Regions from separate parts of the Homo sapiens genome. Here region 1 is linked to region 2. Evidence: promoter capture Hi-C in human tissues and cell types (Jung and others, 2019). All regions are on one chromosome and are shown on one strand. The core of a region is centred on a gene start or on the middle of the fragment in contact, and the rest is flanking DNA. Distances in the headings are between cores, read along the strand shown. Region 1 has its middle 6.4 kb from the start of AKAP19. Region 2 holds the start of ASNSD1 (asparagine synthetase domain containing 1).

Evidence for each region. The method cuts DNA at HindIII sites, captures the fragments that hold promoters and counts their contacts. A contact is called where the count stands out against the background at its distance.
Region 1: a contact is called between a fragment that was not itself captured here and the fragment with the promoter of ASNSD1 in region 2, in 1 of the 25 tissues and cell types used here (lymphoblastoid cells).

Annotation. Positions count from the first base shown.
Region 1 is chr2:190,172,957-190,175,909 of GRCh38, reverse strand. It overlaps a transcript of AKAP19 not described here. Among named protein-coding and RNA genes, the nearest start is that of AKAP19, 6.4 kb to the left of the region's middle. The HindIII fragment of the contact is 3,430 bases long and covers 1-2,953 here.
Region 2 is chr2:189,660,084-189,662,824 of GRCh38, reverse strand. ASNSD1 (asparagine synthetase domain containing 1) reads right to left here and starts at 1,366. Exons shown (of 6, transcript NM_019048.4): 1 at 1,215-1,366. It overlaps ASDURF (ASNSD1 upstream open reading frame), which reads right to left and starts at 1,366. Exons shown (of 4, transcript NM_001353493.2): 1 at 1,215-1,366. The coding sequence starts at 1,304. RefSeq lists an enhancer at 1,119-1,308. The HindIII fragment of the contact is 8,906 bases long and covers 1-2,741 here.

The DNA.
Region 1 (2,953 bases), core at 177-2,676, 510 kb before region 2:
GGAACAGCTCCAAAGGCCTAATCACCTCTTAAAGGCCCTACCTCTTAATCCTATCACATCGGCAACATCTGAATTTTGGAGGGAACATTCAAACCATGGCAGTTTGCCATTATAATATTTTAATATATATCATGATATGCTTAAAAGCTCTTATGAATTAAATTTTCCAAATGGTACTGTAGGCCATTGTAGTCTTACTCATTATGTCACTGAAGTGAGAAGTGATTGACATTATCTTCCTTATGTGGAAGACAAAAATCAAATAGCCCCTCCAAGCTTCTCACTCCTGAAGAAAAAAATTCTTTAGTTTTTCTCACAGAATTTCCTTTACTCACATTTTGTTAGGCTGCTCTAGACCCATTCTGGTTCTCCAGGTGTAACTAAATGTCCGGCAACCCAAACTAGGGAATAGTTCCAAATAAGAGTTTAATGCAGAGCATGAGACTATTGTGGAATAGTATCTCCTGACCGTGTAATGTATAATCCAGTTCTGTTCATTATATTTACAACTATATAAGCTGTCAACTATACCATCAGTCTATTTCTTCTCACTTGTTTGGTTCTTAAAGTTGTTCTGCATTCCTTTTTGTGTTGAGTTTGGTCTTTAAGTTTACTGATGTGCATCTGTCCGTAAACAAGCCTCATCTTCCTATACAAGATCTGTCAAAAGATCTTTACGCTGAACTTAAGTACATTTTGAAGTCTTTAAAGCATCATTAATAGACACTATATTTCTATGGTATAAGTAGATTTAACAATCCCCAAAGAGGTAGACGTGCCTGGAAATAAATAAGCGTCTGATTTTGTTGTTGTTGTTGTCTTTTATGGTTACCTATATTTATTCTACCACCCCTACCCCCACCACCAAATTCTGAGCATCTTGAGGATAGGAACTATGTACTCCATGTAATCTATGTATCTTATGTGCTTATTTCCAACACCTGACACAAGGAAGGCATGAAATGTTTGTGGAGTTGGGCATGATTCTTTGCTTTGGTGCTTTATATAATTTCATCTCAGTTTAAACAGAGAAGAACATTACTGCTTGGGCCCATGAATCCAAGCTTCTATAAGTCTTCACCTGCATTTATTTTGATAACCATTTTTGGCATCAAGATGGGGCCAACTTTTATTTGCTTACAAATGTGAGTATAAGACATTGTTAAAAGTCATATAAATACTGCAATAACCATTGGTCCAAAATTTGCTATTTCAAATTTCATATTATATTGTATGTTCTGTTTTTTTTACTTAGGGCATATGTGCCTTTCAGTATGAGTCACTTTCCATTGTTTCACTGCCTTGGGTGTTAAAAACAATCTGTCCCAATTTGATCAACATAGTTTAGCTTCTCCCTGGAATTATGGACTTTCACATATTTATTAGCTCATGATTTTTAAATTAAATATTTGACTAATATACCTTGAAAGGGGGCATAGCCACATAACTGAAGACATTAGAATATTTATCCTGAAGAAGTTAAGGAGAATGAGAAGAGAAATCTGAGGGGTATTCATATGGACAAGGGACTGTATTTAATCTGCGCTGCTCTGATGGGCAGTACGAGAACCAGCAGGAAGAAGTCATGGCAGTGTTGGAAGTAAATGCTCAGTGCCACCAAGTGAAAACAGTCCTCAGGCAAAAGTTTTCTCAGCAAGGCAATTTACTTCTATAGAAGGGTGTGTTTTGTGGATGGAGCAATGGCGAGAGCACACCAGACACGGTGGGGGAAGGGGGTCTTATTCCTAATGCAGCTAGTCCCTACTGCTATGTTTTTCCCCTATTGGCTAGGGTTGGACCACACAGTCTAAGCTAATTCTGACTGGGCTATTTTAAAGAGAGCAAAGGTAGGAGCCGGAGTGGCAGGGTGAGTAGTTTTGGTGGGAGGGATGGTTACAGAGCAGGTGACTAAGGATGACTAAGGACAGAGCAGGTGACTAAGGACAGAGCAGGTGACAGAAGCTAGGAGGGGGTTGTTTACTGAAACTAGGGGCAAGAAGACGTAAAGAACAAGAAAGTCAGACTTTAAGATGGAGAACAAAGAACAGGGAAGCTGAACATACTGACATATTGGTTCTTTGGAGAGAAACTCAGAACTCACTGTACTTAACAATTTTCTCGATCTTGAATTTTAAAGGAAGTTAACAGGCTAAACTTTGAAGAGGAATTTACTGTATCCTCCAGCAGGGAGTTCTGGATTTAATTAAGAGAGGACTGTCTATTGGTTATAACTTAGAAGACGATGGTCTGGTTTGTGAAATGGTGAGCTTCCCTTTCAACCAGAAGTCAGATGATCTATCTGGGAAGCTATGAGGGAGATTTTTACAAAGAATAAAATTTCTCAAAGCCAAGATTCTATCATTTTAGGAGTTGTTTCACAATATAAATTCACGTGCACTTGGCATTTGAACTACATTCACCCCAGTACTACAGGCATTATCTTGACGTCTTACAGTGTATGCCCTCTATGAGGACAGAGTGAGTTCTGCTGTGGTCCTTGGCTAAGGAGGCAGCTTTCAATCTTTTGAACATTTTTTCTTAGAGAGCAAACCAACTGCCAAATGTTGAATGAATTGGTACTCATGAATTCCAGATAATTCAACATAAGAAACTATCTATGTACGAATATTTTATGGTTTGTGATATTTCACTTAACTGCTAACCTCATCAGATGTAGTAGAGAATTAACTCTAACTTAGAGATAATAGTTACTATTTATTGAGCATCTACTATGTGCTGAGAACCATAACAGCCCTTCACATGCCATCTCATTTTTATTTTATTTTATTTTTTTTGAGATGGAGTCTCTCTTTGTCACCGAGGCTGGAGTGCAGTGGCATGATCACGGCTCACTGCAACGTCTGCCTCCCGGGTTCAAGTGATTCTCCTGCCTCAGCCTCTGGAGTAGCTGAGATTGCAGGTGCCCACCACTGCACCCAGCTAATTTTTTTGT
Region 2 (2,741 bases), core at 117-2,616:
GGCCTGGGCCACCATGCTGGCCTGGGCTTCATTTATTTGTAGGGGAGGGCTCAACTAAGTGAAAACTAAGTTTCTTTTTAACTCTATTTATTTTGTGAACATGACTGATTACATAGTATCACAAGAGCCTCTAAAAGCAGCTTTTATCATATTTGTGCTACCTCACACACACCTCAGGGATCTGTAACCACCAGTATGCGTAAGTGGCTTGCTATGGTGGTAATCAGAATGGGCTGTGTGTCTTTTGAAAATTCACCCCCAATCCCCATGAATGTGCACCTTTCTGTCTCCCCCGTTGGCAGAGCTGTAGTAATGAGGTTGAATTCCAAGGCCAAATTTGTAAACATTCTTTGAGACTTAACATTTATACAGGGCTTTCCCATTTTAGGAATGACAGGTGTACATTTCACTTTACTTCAAAGAAGGTAACTGATACAGAAAGATTAAAGAGACTTGCCCAAGATGTCATTGTAAGTTTGGGACAGAACCAAAGTAGAATCTAGGACATGTAATACCTGAAGGGCTATAACCCTCGCCACCCCCATTTATCTTTAAAGGTTGTTTGTTTATGGCAGTTAAGGCTTATATTATATTGGCTTCCTCTCTCCCCCAGTTTGGTATGAGTGACAACCCAATGCGTGTTTTAGGACCATTGCTCTGGTTAACGGAGAAGCAGCAGCTAACAGGTGGATGAGGAGAGACCGCTTAGGAAGGCCTTGCCGGGGGCAGGGGTCCCGATAGCAGATGACGGTGGCTTATTTGGGGTGGTAAGAGTGTTCACGGTGATAAAGGGACATATTTGAAATGAGCTTCAAAGGTAGAACTGATAGGCTTCCATGATGGGGGTCAAGGATGGACCCCGGGTTGCTGGCATGGTTAACTGGATGGAGAATATCTTTGATGGAACAGATTTGGGGTGGGCGGTATTTCCAAAAGTTTAAAAAGACTAGGGAGGAAAACACCCAACCAAAACTCCGCCCCACTGTCACCTGGGTCCAGTCTCGGGACAAATTTCAAGATCTCCCTTTTCGCAACTGTTTTCAGAAAATAAAAGGACTAACTGTGGCTGTCAAGTGCTATGAATAAAAAGAGCAAAGTAGCAGGGCAAAGCCGAGGCCCAGGCAGGCCCCACGCTGCCCGCTGCGGACCACCTTCAGGGTCCAGTGGCGCCCGGTCCCGAGTCCAGGAGCCTTTTCGTCGCGTCTCACACTCACCTTGCTGCTTAGATCCTCCTTGTGTGGGGTCGAATTGTCGGTGGGGATCAGCACAGAGCTGTCCTCTGGTCGCGTCCCTCGGCTGGGCATTTCCACCGAGCGCAAGACACGCGGGATGGCTCAGCCCTGAAGGAGCCTACGGCATTAGCCACAGCGCATGCGCGCTTCCAGCCGCGCTCACCCTTTCTTTTCCCGCGAGTCTTACCAATAGCGTCTGCGCGCTCACTTGAACGCATGCGCAGGCCGGGTCTGGCCTGGGGAGGAGTTTCGCGCCTGCGCATGGCTGCTTAGGGAGCGAGTAAACAGTCTGGTTGCAAAATCTGAGGTTCCTGTACTGGCCTCTTGTGGTTGAGATGCAGAAACGCTCAGGTGGTTTCTTCATGACCTCTTATCTAGTATACTACGAGTTCTGTGCGCCCTCCAGTGGTAAATATGAAGAATAGTCGTGCAATAGAAACAGCGCTTAATATGATATTTATTATCTAGGGAAAGATGAAGCTAAGGAACAGATTTAAGAGATACCGTGTTGGCAAAAGAACTGTACAGACTTGGTAAAGTTTTGGTTAACTCGTGGTTAGGGTTGCCGGATAAAATACAGTATGAACTTCAGATGAATTAATAGTTTTTTAGTGCATCTATGTCCCGTGCAATATTTGCAATATCTCATTTCTGTGGAAAAAATGACTAAAACTTGGAAATAGGCAAAAGAGATTTATTTACTGGATGCTCTTTCAGTGCTGCTCTGGACTTGACTTTATTATATTGACTGGGCTGTTTTACAATTCTGTAGGGGCAAAGGTTAACTTTGGTAGAGATTTTGGTTTGGTAGAGATGCAAATAATTTTTTGTTGTACCAGATACCAACACAGGTTATGATTTATTGTTCTGCAACACATTAGTCAGTTTTGTATCTAACCCTGCATTCTGTCCTAACATTTCTTTATTAACATATGCCTAGCTTCTCTAATATTCTGTATTGGTTTTAAAGTCATCGGTTCCCTCACTAACCAATGAGTTGAATAAAAGTTTGACATGTATATATTTTATGTTCACATTAGAGACATGATTTTAGGTTTTTGATAATTATACTATATTATTGGAAATCTTAAGTTTCCACAGAGATGCCCAACTGGATTTATGTGATGAATCAAACTATCTGGCGAAAGAAATGTATACATCATGGGTTGTTTAAGGCCAGGCATGTTTTTTATTTGCTCTTACAGAAAACCCAAGTGGTTATATATTTTTCCTTTATAATTGATTTTTAAAGATTGTGTTTTCATTTCTGATTTGTACATTCCTGATAAGTTATTCAGGTATAACTTATACATTACTGATACATTGATAGCAGCAATGATTGGGAGTTTGGTTTTGTGGTCTAACCATTTGGTGGTATCTGTTGGATGATGGACGTCTAGTCTCATTGGTAGAGAGGTAGATAGGTGCAGTGGCTCAAACCTGTAATCGCAACCACTCGGGGCTGAGGTGGGAGGATTACTTGAGGCCAGGGGTTCAAATAAATAAATA